Linked DNA regions of Homo sapiens: regions 1, 3, 4 and 5 are each linked to region 2. Evidence: promoter capture Hi-C in 16 types of primary human blood cells and fetal thymus (Javierre and others, 2016). All regions are on one chromosome and are shown on one strand. Each heading gives the region's core, a stretch centred on a gene start or on the middle of the fragment in contact. The rest is flanking DNA. Distances are from core to core; before and after follow the strand shown. Region 1 overlaps BCORL1 (BCL6 corepressor like 1). Region 2 holds the start of APLN (apelin). Region 3 overlaps BCORL1 (BCL6 corepressor like 1). Region 4 overlaps UTP14A (UTP14A small subunit processome component). Region 5 overlaps BCORL1 (BCL6 corepressor like 1).

What was found. Contacts are between HindIII fragments. The CHiCAGO score rates a contact against its expected background, and 5 or more counts as called.
Region 1: a fragment that was not itself captured here is called in contact with the fragment with the promoter of APLN in region 2 in 6 of 17 cell types (activated CD4 T cells, non-activated CD4 T cells, total CD8 T cells and 3 more); the score reaches 10.3 in activated CD4 T cells.
Region 3: a fragment that was not itself captured here is called in contact with the fragment with the promoter of APLN in region 2 in 11 of 17 cell types (non-activated CD4 T cells, naive CD8 T cells, naive CD4 T cells and 8 more); the score reaches 11.0 in non-activated CD4 T cells.
Region 4: a contact is called between a fragment that was not itself captured here and the fragment with the promoter of APLN in region 2, in 10 of 17 cell types (total B cells, activated CD4 T cells, naive B cells and 7 more). The highest score is 12.6, in total B cells.
Region 5: a contact is called between a fragment that was not itself captured here and the fragment with the promoter of APLN in region 2, in 5 of 17 cell types (non-activated CD4 T cells, total B cells, activated CD4 T cells and 2 more). The highest score is 7.9, in non-activated CD4 T cells.

What each region holds. Positions count from the first base shown.
Region 1 is chrX:130,056,059-130,058,758 of GRCh38, reverse strand. It overlaps BCORL1 (BCL6 corepressor like 1), which reads right to left. Exons shown (of 14, transcript NM_001379451.1): 14 at 688-2,700. The coding sequence ends at 2,623. Among named protein-coding and RNA genes, the nearest start is that of ELF4, 53 kb to the left of the region's middle. The HindIII fragment of the contact is 3,020 bases long and covers 1-2,700 here.
Region 2 is chrX:129,653,535-129,656,234 of GRCh38, reverse strand. APLN (apelin) reads left to right here and starts at 1,279. Exons shown (of 3, transcript NM_017413.5): 1 at 1,279-1,671. The coding sequence starts at 1,605. RefSeq lists enhancers at 96-155, 166-255, 1,948-2,007 and silencers at 1,438-1,517, 1,608-1,657. The HindIII fragment of the contact is 20,761 bases long and covers 1-2,700 here.
Region 3 is chrX:130,035,815-130,038,514 of GRCh38, reverse strand. It overlaps BCORL1 (BCL6 corepressor like 1), which reads right to left. Exons shown (of 14, transcript NM_001379451.1): 10 at 982-1,148. Among named protein-coding and RNA genes, the nearest start is that of BCORL1, 55 kb to the right of the region's middle. The HindIII fragment of the contact is 5,010 bases long and covers 1-2,700 here.
Region 4 is chrX:129,924,339-129,927,038 of GRCh38, reverse strand. It overlaps UTP14A (UTP14A small subunit processome component), which reads right to left. Exons shown (of 15, transcript NM_006649.4): 12 at 1,844-2,244; 13 at 927-1,120; 14 at 700-799. All of the region lies in intron 2 of LOC105373335 (a long non-coding RNA gene), which reads left to right. Among named protein-coding and RNA genes, the nearest start is that of UTP14A, 20 kb to the right of the region's middle. RefSeq lists a silencer at 1,256-1,305. The HindIII fragment of the contact is 700 bases long and covers 1,080-1,779 here.
Region 5 is chrX:130,014,517-130,017,216 of GRCh38, reverse strand. It overlaps BCORL1 (BCL6 corepressor like 1), which reads right to left. Exons shown (of 14, transcript NM_001379451.1): 4 at 1,004-2,700. Among named protein-coding and RNA genes, the nearest start is that of BCORL1, 33 kb to the right of the region's middle. The HindIII fragment of the contact is 2,340 bases long and covers 211-2,550 here.

The DNA of each region.
Region 1 (2,700 bases), core at 102-2,601, 400 kb before region 2:
GGGCCTCATCCCAGGCCTCTCGAACATCCTCTTCCTCTCAGTCACTGGTGCATTCTGGAACCAGCAATCACAAGAATCATAGCTTCTACCACTGTTTTTCAGAAGTGGGAGGAAAAACTGCAAAATCCAGGATGGGCATCTTGCCTTCATGGTAGCTCGGTGGCAGGAAAACAGAACCATGGAAGGCCTGCACCGTGGGTGGGGAGCACTGGCACAACAGTGAGGGCAGTGATGAGGCCATGCAGCCAGATGCCACCTCGGCAGGGTGGCCTAGGGCAAGCAGGGGACTTCCTTAAGGAGGCTTATTCCCACAGCCACCACAGAGAAGGCTACTTCCTCCAACCCTGCTACTCCTATGTAAACAAGGACTGCCCAGGCACCTGCTTCAACCCCAAACCAAAGCAACAGGAGCCAGATGCTCCATTTGCCCCCACTGGCCCCGCCCCCAGGATTTGCCCCTTTCTTTTTCTTTCCAGATCGTGACCCAATGTTCACTAGCCACTCCACCTTGCCTTTATTCATCGTACCCCTTGGGACCCACAGCTGCAAAGCAGGATGGCGGGGGCTCCCCATTTACTGAATCACAATGCCCACCTTCTGAAACCACCAAAAAGTCCCAAAGGGGAGGAGAGAAAAAGAGAGACGGGAGAGAAAAAGAGAGACGGGAGACAGAAGCCCTGACACAGGTTTTTCAGTATGCAAGTGTTTTTGACTCCACAGCCAGTTGCTTAAAATGAAACATAAAGGGCAGCCAGAATATACACCCAAATGCGAAAAAAGGAAAGGCAAACAGAACATGAAATAAACTACACAATACCAGGAACCCCAACAAAACCAACAAATTAAAGTCCAAAACCCCTCAACTTTATATATATATATGTATATATATATGTATTTTTTTTTCTTAAAAAGGGAAAACAACTGTTCAAAACCAACTGGGCAGTATGGTGGGGGTGGGGAGCAGTCCTACAGAAGGGGGCCGAGAACTTCCCCCCCAGGAACAAAGAACAAACACAATACAAAGAAAATAACCACCAATGCTCCCGCATGGCTCAGGAGCCTCTAGAGAACAGATTGTCCCATCCTCAAACTGGCTTTTTTTTTTTCCTTTTTTTTTTAATCTTTTTTTTTTCCATTTTCTTTTTTGTTGTTGTTGTTTTAGCACCTGTACAATAAAACTGTACCATCTCCAACCAGAGCCGGCCACGGCGAGGCCCTCCTGCCTTTGGATGGTACATACTCTACAAGGATTGTTCGGAAAAATAGCAATTGGTAGAAAAATAAGAGTGGGAGGGACAATGCCACAGAGGGGGCGGGGACAGGGAAGCAACCCAAGCTCCTCTCTCTCTCTCACTCGACAAACCCAGCGCTGGAGGCCCAGAGGCCAGGGGGAGGCCAGGTAGGGATACCACTCAGCCCCAGGCCCCCAGGCATGAGTGGAGCAAGGGCTGGAGACCACTTTCCTGCCCTTGCCTAGGAAACAGCTGACGCCTGGATTTCACATCCGGCAGTGAGTCCCAGAGCCCTCTGCAGATTCCCAAGGAGAATGAGGGGCTGAGGGAGGAGGTGGGAGGAGAGGAAGGAAAGGGGTGCTGTGAGTCTCAGAAGGGGCAGGGATGGGGGTGGCTGAGGGCTGGGAGGTGAGAGGCTCAGTATCTTGAGACAGGGAGGCCAGAACGGGGTGGGAGAGTGGAGGCAGGAACAAACTCGTATTGTGCACTCTGAGGGGGGCAGTGAAGAAGGCGTGAGGAGGGGGGCCACCCTCACCCCTCAGATCCCTTCTCCACGCTCCTTTATTAGAGTAACTTATTAACCCCTCACCTCACAATCCTCCCCTCCCTGTCAACACTAATCTCAAGATAGCGGGGCTGCTGCAAAGGGCGGGAATGGGTGGGTGGGGGAGCACCAAAGCCTCAGGATTTACCCCCAAGCCCCCAGCCCTGGGCCAGCAGCAACCAGCTTCGTTAGTCACAAGTCCATGTTCCCCCACCCCATTCCACCTCACCCCCTCCCCAGTGGGGGAAAAAAACACCAGGGAATAGCTTTGTCAGAGCTCATCAACAAAGAAAAAGAAAAGGAGGTACAGAAAGTCCCTCAATACAACAAGTTGTCTCAAATCGTCACAGTGATACAGACTTATCAGAAACCAATGAAACAATACAAATTAAATACTAATAAAATAAATACTACAGAAGACAGAAGAACACAGGGGAATGGAGTTGGGGGGCGCTCAGAGATCTGGGATTTTCTCATTTCTCCTCGGGACAGGCCAAGGCCATCCAGGGCCCAGGTTTGGTCTTGGTCATGAACAAGGAGGCCAGTCCAAGGGACCCCGGCGCCACCTCCCACCACCCCCGGGACCTCTTGTCCTCAGACATGGAGTTCAACTTTCCACCCCCATCAGCAACCACGATAACAATGACGACGACAGGGAGATGAGAACTAATTGTAACCAAAAAAACAAAAACAGTCCAGTCGCTAATGCTGGCATTGATAAGGCGGCTTCTTGTTGGTCCGTATTATTGCCTCATTCTGCAGTCTGGTGCTCGGTCGGGGAAAGACAAGGAGGTGGGGGAAGGGCGAACTCGGAAGGAGAAAGAAGAGGAGGGGCTGTTTTCCCGGTCAACTGTTGCAAGACTGGAATTCCACCTCGGACCCTAGGAGCCGAAGTAGGTCTGGCTCGTACCGCACCAGCTCCAC
Region 2 (2,700 bases), core at 30-2,529:
ATTTTTGCAACATTTCAAAGATATTTTAAATATGCCATGGTCTCTCATGTCTTTTATGGCACACACGCACCCTGTCCAATGTATCTTTTGTGTAAATCTGGACTTAACACTTCAAGCAAACTGCCTGGCTTGCTGAAAGGTGGAGACACCTTTCGATTCAGTCTTTTAATATGTGTTGAGTGCCACCTATGTGCAGAGCAAGATATTGGGGACTTTGGAGAGATCCAGAAGAGTGAGAAGACAGTATCCTACCTTAGGGGGTTCCCAGTCCAATGAGGGAAGCAGCCCCATGCCTTGGGAGCTCCCAAGCTATAGAAGCAGCTAACAATCGAGTCTGGAAAGGCAAACAACTTCAGGACCCGCTTCTAAAGCGGAATCGCAAGTACACGCAAAATGAATCCAGCCTTGACTGTGTGGAGTTGGGTAAACCACCTGCCTCTTACGTTGATGGGGAACTAGAATGAGGACAGCTCCAGGGAACAAGAAAGGGTAGACCATAGGAGCTGTCCCATGTCCCAACAGTGGGGAGGAGCTGATGGGCGGCCCCTGCTGGATTAGTGTTATCCTGAGAAGGCTTCTGGATGCGATGGGATTTGAGGTGCTGCTGCAAAGAATGAATTGCTCACGGAAGGGTGGGGTGGGGGCATTCCAGGTAGAGGGTGCCTCCTGGGGGATGCAGGGAACATGAGGGGCCTGGGCAATTAATCAAGCCTTGGGCACAAGCCTAGGCAGTCACCCCCAATTCAAAGCCAGTTGAAAATGCAGAGGAGAGAGGAGGGCCAGTGTTTGGTTGTCTTGACCAAACCCTTGAAGCTGGCCAGCGGCAAGGGCAAGGACCAGGGTCAGAGGTAGAGGGCGTGAGTGAAGGCAACCCAGACTGAGTCCTTCCCTAAGCGCCCAGGTTTCCTGACAGCTGTTAAGGAAGCAAGGTGAGAAAGGGTTAAGTGTGCCCCTCCACCGCCCCAAATGCTTCCTGTGTTTGAAATCCTTCAGGTCTCTGCAAACCCTCTGGCCCCCGGCCAGGCGGGCATTGTCCGGGGAGCGGTTGTAGGTTGTCAGAGAGGCCGCGCAGCCTTTGTTGTGGGGCCACCTCGGGGTTCCCTCTCGCGCTCACGCTCGGGCTGGGGCTGCAGAGTGCGTGCCTGGAGGGGGGCGGTGCGGGAGGCTCGCTCCCTCTCCCTCTTCCTGCCCCCCCTCTAGCCCTCCCGATGACCACATGACCAAGTGGGCTCGCGGCCAAGCCACAAGCTACAAAATGCAGCCCCTGGAGTGAGCGGGGAGCATTCTCTCTGGCAGCCGGGGTCACGGGCAGTTGCAGCCGCGGCCGAGCAGCCAGCCGCTAAGAAAGAGCTCGCCGCTGCCGCTCCCGGAGCCGCCGAGGCCAGCTTCGCGGCGCTGCCCCGCGGCGGGAGAGGAGGCTGCAGAAGAGCGGAGGCGGCCAGCGGGAGCGGCGGGGCTCAGCGCGCACACTCAGCGGCCGGGGAGCCTCCCGAGCTCTGCGCCCGCACGCGCCAGCCGCGGCTCGCGCCTTTCTTGGCCTCCGGGCGCCCGACCTCTCCTCCCCCGCGCCGGCTCGCCGGGGCCGCGGCGGCCCAAGGAGCAGCATGAATCTGCGGCTCTGCGTGCAGGCGCTCCTGCTGCTCTGGCTCTCCTTGACCGCGGTGTGTGGAGGTGAGTGCGCGCCCTCCCGCTCGCCCGGGCTGCAGCCGGCGTGCTCCTTTCCCTCCGCCCTATTCGCACTCTCCCCGCCTCCCGGGGAGCCCGGCGCGAGCCGTGCAGTAGCAGCCACGCGCCGGCCAGCGCCAGGCAGCAGATTGACAGAGCGCCCCGAGCCATGGGGCGGCTGGCCACAAGGACTGCTTCTTTTGCGGGGCTCAACTCGGCCTTTGGCATCACCTGCCCGTCACCTTGTCCCTCCTAACCGTCGCTCGCAGTCCCAGGAGCTCAGGACCACAGGTGTGCGCCGCGTGTCCCACGCCCTGCACCCCGCGTGGTAGAGGTGGAGGCGGGGGACATGCCCGCTCCCTCGTGGATCGATGGAAGGAACTGACCAGAGTCGAGTGGGCTGGGCTCCCATGTTGAACGTCTTCTGGTCCCTGAAGGCTGGGAGCCTCCCGCCAGTCCAGGGGCGCGGGAAACCGGGGATGATGTGCCAACATGCAGACGTGACACTTGTTGCATAGGCAGGAGTGCGCGGAGGGGGTGGCGGCATGGAGCCCAGCTGTTGCTCCTTTCGGCCTGCATGTGTGAGCAGAGGCAGCCTCCCCCAGGCAGGGCCGGGCCCAGCCGGGCTGGGCTGGTCTTCTCCTCCCTAACCCCAAGGTCCTGGCTGGTCTCCTCCCCTGCACAGGATGCCCTCCCCATAGCCTCCATCCCACCCCCAGAGACTTGGTTCTCTTACATCCTGGCTCCAGCCTTCCTTTCTGTCCCAGGCACGGACATGCTTCACTTTAGTCTCCCTGCCGCTAGGCACCAAAGGAGGAAGCACAGCACCTGACCCGACCCCTCCCTGCAGCTCAGGAAAGGGGAGTCCTTTTGCCCTCACCTGCCAATACTTGGCACTAGTGCCCATGTCCGCCCCTAGCCTGGTCCCCAACCACGCCCCAGCAGCCCCATCCCAGGCTGCCTGTCCTCTGTGTCAATGTCTCCTGGGGCTGCCAGCTCCCACCTCCAGCTGCCACAGTCCTATGATCTGGCTGT
Region 3 (2,700 bases), core at 29-2,528, 380 kb before region 2:
GTGAGACTCCATCTCAAAAAAAAAAAAAAGGTGGGGGCAACTGTAGAGGGATACTTCAGTTCAGGGAACTGAAGGCCCTGGGTGACTCCCTGAGAGCAGAGATGAGCAGAAGGGCTCCACACGCCAGGCAGAACCCAAGCGGAGCCCCCTCCTGGATCTGCAGCTCCTGTCTCTAATTTGCCCAGGAAGTAGGCTCTCTGGTAGAACAGAGGAGAATGGGTACAATTTCTCTAAGACACAGCAGGTGTATTTTTCTTACAGTGTCTAGAGATCAAATTTTAAAAATCAAATCTGGATATTACCCTCAGGTCAACCTCTCAGTTTCTATTCTGTCTGAGACACGTCCCCCACCAGGATGAGTTGAGGGAAGACCGAGTGGTCTTCCTGGTGACAGCTACACATGATGGGATGATCCCTAGACAACCACAGCCTCCCCTTAGTAACTGATGCGGCCTGGCCATCTGGGAACTAACTCATTGGCTCCTGCCCTAAACTGGTTCCCTCTTGAGCCTATAGAAGTCTTTCCAAAACTCCTCCTGTCAAGGCCTCTCTGCAACTCGCAGTCTGGTGTGCTACGAAGGTTCAGGTTGAGGTAAGGTCTTTATTTTTTTATTTTTTATGTTTTTTTGAGACGGAGTCTCCATCACCCAGGCTGGAGTGCAATGGCATGGTCGCGGCTCACTGCAACCTCCACCTCCTGGGTTCAAGCAATTCTCCTGCCTCAGCCTCCTTAGTAGCTGGGACTACAGGCACATGCCACCACACCCGGCTAATTTTTGTATTTTTAGTAAAGATGGGGTTTCACTATGTTGGCCAGGCTGGTCTCGAACTCCTGACCTCATGATCCGCCCGCCTTGGCCTCCCAAAGTGCTGGGATTACAGGCGTGAGCCACCATGCCTGCCAGCGGCAGGCAAGGTCTTTTGAGTGAGAGGCTGAGCTGGGAGTGAGGGCGGGACTGGGGGGAGATGCAGCCCTCTTGCCTCGTGCCGTCCTGCGCACTGCAGTTCACGTTGGCCCCGTGCTCCAGCAGGATGTTCAGGATGTCGGTCCAGCCCCGGGAACAAGCCTCATGCAGGGCTGTGTAGCCAGCATTGTCACGGTGATTCACATCTTCACTGTCTTTCTGGAGGCAGTAGAGAACAACATCCTGTGGGGACAGGGACAACTCCATGAGCAAAGAGAGGTCTAATTCTTGAACTTATATAACCCTGAGACTCAAAGCTCCCCAAATATCTGAGGAGTCTCAGAGCCTGCCCTTTATAGCAGGGACACACTTCAAAATCTTTCATTAACAACATCAGTCCTGAGCCACAATTGCCAGGACCCCAGCTCTGGGCCGTTTCCTTGGCAGTGGAGAGACTTTTTTTTTTGAGACAGTCTCACTCTGTTGCCCAGGCTGGAGTGCAGTGGCGCAATCTCAGCTCACTGCAGCCTCTGCCTCCCAGGTTCAAGCGATTCTCCTGCCTTAGCCTCCCAAGTAGCTGGAGCTACAGGCGCACGCCACCACGCCTGGCTAATTTTCGTATTTTTAATAGAGATGAGATTTCACTATGTTGGCCAGGCTGGTCTCCAGCTCCTGAACTCAGGTGATCTGCCCACCTTGGCTTCCCAAAGTGTTAGGGTTACAGGCGTGAGCCACCGCACCTGGCCTGGAGAGACTTTTTTTATGGCCAAGGACACTCATCTGGGTGGTGGTATTTGAGGTGAGGTCCTCAGAGAGGCTGACCTGCCCGCCCAGAGCTCAAGCACTCAGACCTCGACTCCCTGAGCTTGGCAAGCCAGCCCCAGACCAGAGAAATGAGATGTGGTGGAGAGCACAGCCTCTGGTGGCAATTCAAGAATAAGGAAGACAATTGTTTTAAGGACTATCCCTGGATGCACGTCTCGGCAGGACCAATGTTCAAGCCAGGACAGTCAGTTCTAGCCCTCCCCTCAAATCAGGATAATCCAATAGGCTGGGTGCAGTGGCTCACGCCTGTAATCCCAGCACTTTGGGAGGCTGAGGCGGGCAGATCACCTGAGGTCAGGAGTTTGAGACCAGCCTAGCCAACATGGCAAAACCCCCTCTCTACTAAAAATACAAAAATTAGCCCAGTGTGATGGCAGGTGCCTGTAATCCCAGCCACTCAGGAGGCTGAGGCAGGAGAATCCCTTGAACCCAGGAGGTGGAGGCTGCAGTGAGCCGAGATTGCACCGTTGCACTCCAGCCTAGGTGACAGAGCAAGACTCCATCTCCAAAAAAAAAAAAAAAGGATAATCCAATACTGCCATTCATCCACACTTTAATGACTGCCTTCCTTGGATTGAGATGATGCTAGGACTACAGGTGGGACACCAGGGACTTGAAGCACCCTAGCTAGCATGGGCTGAAGCTGGGTGAATGAGGTGAGGAGGGGAGAGGCTGGCAGCATTAATGGCTGCCTGGCTTTCCAAACAATGGATCCCATAGCTGCACCATTGCCAGTCCTCTCTGGGGCACTGGGGAGATGGGCCACTCCACCTTTCTGTCTGACAGCTCACAGGCTAGCTGGCTAGAGCGGCTGTGTGTGCAGCCTGTGTCAGGGGTGCTGCTGGCTGTATATAGAAACTGTCAAGCTCCTTTACCCGGGAGAAAGCCCGAGGCTTCCCACCCTCCTCACCAGTGCAGATGTCTGCCTCTTCCCCCAGGCCCAAAAGGGCTCCTTCCACCCTCCCTGACA
Region 4 (2,700 bases), core at 180-2,679, 270 kb before region 2:
TAATTGGGACTGCAGTAGTTATGATTCAGTTTCTGCAGTGATTGGTTCACAAAATAAGATCAAAAAGAATGTTATTGAAATGTGTATCTTCTTACCTCTGTTCTGTAGCCATTAATTCTTTATTCCTTCCGAGGGAAAAATGTAACTCATTTCAATATACTGGCTGGGGACAGATCTCAGAATTGAAGGGAACATAAAGGTCATCTAGTCCAATCTCGTTCTTGAGTCCCCTTTACACATTCTCATACTCCCAGAGCAGCCTTGAATTCTGTATGTCCTCTAACTTCTACTTTATGTGACTTCATACAATAACCTTCGATATACTTGAACACCGTAATCACGCTCAAATTTTCTTCTCTTGTAAACATCCCTAGCTCATTATCATGTGACACAACTTACAATCTTCTCATTCTCCTGAACAAGTACCGGTTTGTCTTCATTTTTCTTAAGCTACAGCTTAAACCTTATAGCCTCTGTTTGAGCATTACCTTGACTCTAAACTTTTTTCCTGGCCAGTAATTAAAACAGCGTAGTCTATCTGAAATGATAAATCTAACAGCCATTCAGTGAAAACAACAGATTTGATTCTGCGGTCAAGATCACACGTCTCTCTTGACTACAGATCACTAGAATACTCCTCTCAAGCAAGAGAGCCAGGCAGTAACAAGCAGGCAGCTAAAGAGCTCTCTAAGCTCTCACCTGATGAGCAGCTGCGTGGATGTTGCGCTTCTCATTGATAATCACATTTGGCAAATTCTTATCTTTTCTTGGAGGACCCTCAGGGGCTTTAATGAGAAACCTGGAAAGCAAAACAACAGGACATCTGACTAGGAGCATTAAGGACTTAGTCAAAAGGGTAGGGAGGACACCGAAGGGCGAGGGGAGAACCCGGTGCCCTTTTGACAGACTTTCTTCGGCATTCTTACCGGCGTCTTTTCTTGGCACTGGGCTTTAGGCCCACACCACCCCACTCGCCCCAGCCAGGTAGTGTCAGGTCCACGTCCTTTGGCTTACTCGCCTCCACAGCTTCCCTCTTCTCTTTCAAGAAATCTCTGATGACATCATCCCCAGCAAAAGCTTCCTTTATCATCTGCCTATGGTTTCTCTCCTCTTCATCTTCCTGGGAAGAAACAAGCGAGAGCTACAGCTTGGCTTATGAGCTGTGGTTCATGGCGAGAACGCTTGAATTTCGGGTCGTGACATTTTAGCGCCCCCTAGGGGGAAGTGCTGAACAATGATGGTCTTGCGATACAAACCAGTGCACAGCCAATCATGCTCAAATTTTCTTCCCTCTAGGGTAAATATCCCTAGCTCATTATCATATGACACAATTTTAAACTTTTCAGTAAGGAAGCTGCAGGGTGGAGGAAGGAATGGCCCGTGTTAGCAGCAGGAGCTCTAAGTGGCCAGACTGTAGGCTTCCTCCAGCTTATATCCCTGAAAAGACAGGTGCCAGGACGCTTCACTTTAAGTTTCAGATTAACTGGGGAGTCTTAGACCATCTGAGATCCCACTGAATAAAACTTTCGCAACAGTTCAATGACTCACCTTCAAGTTGTCCTGCCTGGGATCTGGTCAGAACTCTGAGTTACTCCCTCTTACCTCTGAGAGCAGTTTTAGAGTCACCCCAGAGGAGTTTTTGTGGATCAGGCTTTCGGAAATAGGGGTCTTGGCAGCACCCATATATCTGCATCTATTAAAACGTCACTGGGACTAGCCTGGCCCTATACTATTCTGGACCTCTAAACTACTGAAATGTGCCCCCAGCAAAACAAAGCTTCATTACTCCTTGCGCAAGAACGACACTTTCTGAACAATGGCCCACCACCCTGGCTCTGCTCACCAGCTCCTCTATTGTGGGAACTGCCAAAGACTTCACGGAGGGAGATTGTGTGGTTAGGAGGTTCTGTAGGTCGATCATTTGCTCCTTCTTTTTCTTCTCCTTAGGGGCATCAGGGCGATTATTTGGGGTCCTCTCTGACTGCTGCCCTTCTAACACAGGTCTGGGAAGCTCCTTATTTTGAAAACATTCTTCTTTTCCCAGCTCTTCTAGCTCTTCCAGCGTCTGTACTCTCTCTGGTCTCTGTAGCAACAGGGGCTCCTCTTCTTCTGGGGCAGGTTCCTCTCTCTGGACCTGGGGAATAGTCCCCTCTGAACTTGCTTTTTGCTTCCTGGACTGATGGTTTTCCTTCAATTTCTGAGATAGTACTCTCAATTCAGACAGCACCTCCTGGCTGCCAGAATCTGGGGGAAAAAAGAATGAAAACTGTCAGAAAATGAGGTTTGTACGTTGTCTGGTCGGTAAGCATTTGTTGAGCACCCACCAAGTGCTAGGTACCACATAAGACATTATAAAAAGGACAAACGGGGAAAAGAAGATTCTGTACATTGAATCTCCTAGACAGTACACTAATCATAGCAGGCAACGGAGTTTGGTAATTAAAAGTAGCATGTGGCCAGGTGCGGTGGCTCACACCTGTAATCCCAGCACTTTGGGAGGCCGAGGCGGGCAGATCATGAGGTCAGGAGATCGAGACCATCCTGGCTAACACGGTGAAACCCCATCTCTACTAAAAATACAAAAAATTAGCTGGGCATGGTGGCATGTGCCTGTAGTCCAGCTACTCAGGAGGCTGAGGCAGGAGAATCACTTGAACCAGGGAGGCAGAGGTTGCAGTGAGCCGAGATTGTGCCACTGCA
Region 5 (2,700 bases), core at 131-2,630, 360 kb before region 2:
GATGGGGCAGAGGTCAGGTCCATGAACCCCCTAAAATTATTGGCAAAATTCTGAGGTCACATTTCTGGGAACAGGGTCCATAGCTCTCACCAGCTTTTCAAAATGGTCTATGGTCCAAAAAAGACCATAAACTTGTGCCACAGCCAAATTCACAGTGCTCTAGCCAGAAATTTTGTCCCTTAGTGTACATGAACATCCAACTTGAAAGCTTGCTAACAGAACTTCAAGTTGTTCTAGATTTTTAATAAACCCTATCCTCAAATGTTTCAAGATTCTCCTTGGATCACCAGTAGCCTCTGGTCCCTTCTGGGGGACCAGGGGATTCTCATCAAGTGCTCCTGGCCCACCTTTTTGCCTAGAACTCTGCCACCATCCATAGCCTGTCAAGACCAACACCCAGACACCCAACCTGCCTTGCCCATCCAATCCCCAGTGGGCCAAAACCCAAAGCTGCTGCCTCAAGCATTCGAGCGGGTAGGAAACTGATTAGCACAGAAGCCAAATTGGCTCTGACCCCACAAGGCTCCCAGCAAATCCTAAGCAGGCCCCCCAACCAGTGGTGAAAGGAACAACCCCGTCAGAGGCCCCTGCTCTCCCCATCCCTAAGTTCTCAAGGCCAGTGTTCTCTCAGTAAAGGAAAAGGAAGAATGGTTATTCAAGGAAGAGCCTGTTATTCATTGATTTCCCTCACCAATACCTTCTTCCGCTTTCCGATCTCATCTGGGACAATGGCTTCCCTACCCCAGGGACAGAATCATTTCCCACATCCTACAAACTACAAGCCAGCCTCTCCCCATGCTGAGACACCGTATATGGAAAATGTGACCTAGGGAGGGGACAGCAGGTCATTATTACTTTTACAAAAGCCTTCCAATCCGTTCAGTTCACACAGCTGCCCAACAGCACTGTGTCACAGGGTAGGGGTCACAGGAGGTTGCTATCCATGGCACGAAGTAGACCAGCGGCATCTCGGCCCCACCCTGGACCTTAGCTCAGCACTCACCTTGGGTCTGTGGGAACTCCGGACCACGGCCTTGGCTTGTGGCTGGAGCTGCTGCTCTTCACTGTCCTTCTCTTTGCCGCACTTCATCTTCTTGGGCGGCAGAGATTCCGTCACATCATCTGGCTGCCACTTGTTCTTGCAAGCAAAGACCCCTACGCTTTCCTGTTTCACTCGAGCCTGCCCGGCCTTAGCCCGAACTTCAGCTTGGCCCCTCTGGGGAGCCACTGGGAGGCCATCAGCCCGGAAGCAGGTGGCTAAATTGAAGACCACATCACCATCCACCTTCTCCATTTTCACTCGCCCCAGATCCACCTGGCTTCCAAGCTGTGGGCGCTCTGTGCTGGAGCCCCTCCTGCTGCTCGGAACCACGTCCAATATAAGTTCCTTGGGGTGGCTGTCGTGAGGTAGCAAAGGCAGCTCAGGCATCTTAGGCAGGTTCTGGGGGGTGGCCAGGACCAGCTCATGGGACATGTAGGTGGCCAGCACTTGGTTCTTAGGCTTCGTGTCTCCTGCCAGCTTCAGGCCACAAGCCCCCTGGGGGCCTTCCATCTTAGGAGTGCTGTCAGAGCAGAGGTGGCTCTCTGATTCCTCAGGCCCCTGATTCATTCGAATGTCCCCACCGCTAGGCTGAACAGACAGTGCCAGGGTCCCAGTCTGAGGGCTGAGGGTCAAGAGGACAGGATTGACTTGTTCTTCATAAGGCTTGGCAGCAATCCGGCAAGTTTTGTTCTTTGTAACAGGGTCCTGCTCTGGAACGAAGGAGCCCCCAGGCCGTGGTTGCCCCTCAGGAAGTCCGTGCACGGCTTCGCTGGAGCTGAGAGATGGCACACCAGAAAACTCCGAAACAACGCTGGTGGGCCTGATGGGCGCCCCCTGACTGGGGGTCAGCTGCCCGGCACTGGAAATGCCAATGGAAAGCAGAGACGCCTGGTGGTACGGGGACCAGCCAACAGGCAGGACCTGGGTGCTGGTAGGTTTCCCATTGACTGAACACCGGGGATAAATATTTGCCGGCCCCGTGGGTTTCCACAAAGAGAGTTCCTTGGTTTGGCACCCTGGCAGCCCAGGGGCAATGCGGGCTGGAGTATATCGTTTCACTGTGCTTGGCTGTCCCTCAGCACCAGCCTGGCTGCCCTTTTTGCCACACGTGGCACCAGTGCCCTTAGGCTCTCCTTGATCAATGATGGAGATGGGCTCCTGCTTGGGGAGATGGCGGGGGTCACGGTTGAGGCCCAGGTTGGGGTCTTTGTTCAGCAGCAGGGATGCAGGCACTGGGTTGGCCACTCCCACGTAGGTGCCAGGAATGGTGCTGATCAGTGCAGTTGAGTTCTTCACCCAGGTGCTCGGGTCCCCATTCCTCACGATCTCGGGAAAGATGACAAAGGGCGAGGAAGTGGAGCCCAGGCAGGAGGTGACATTGCCACCGGCAGCCTGGGTTGTGCGCTGAGACCTAGACAGGACTGTGGAGAGGAGGGCCTTGCTGCTGGTGTGCACGGGGGTCAACACAGGCATGGGGGGTGTCTTGCGCTGGTTCGGCAATGGAAGCTTCTGGCGGTTGGACTTGGAGGACAGATCAAGGGGCATCTCGCTGCACTCAGGTGGAGAGGCCATCTCTCGTTCCAGCTGTGGCGGTGACTTAAGAGGAGAGAAGGTAACGGAAGTCCCTTCTGTTTGCTGCTCGGTGCCACTGGGCATCT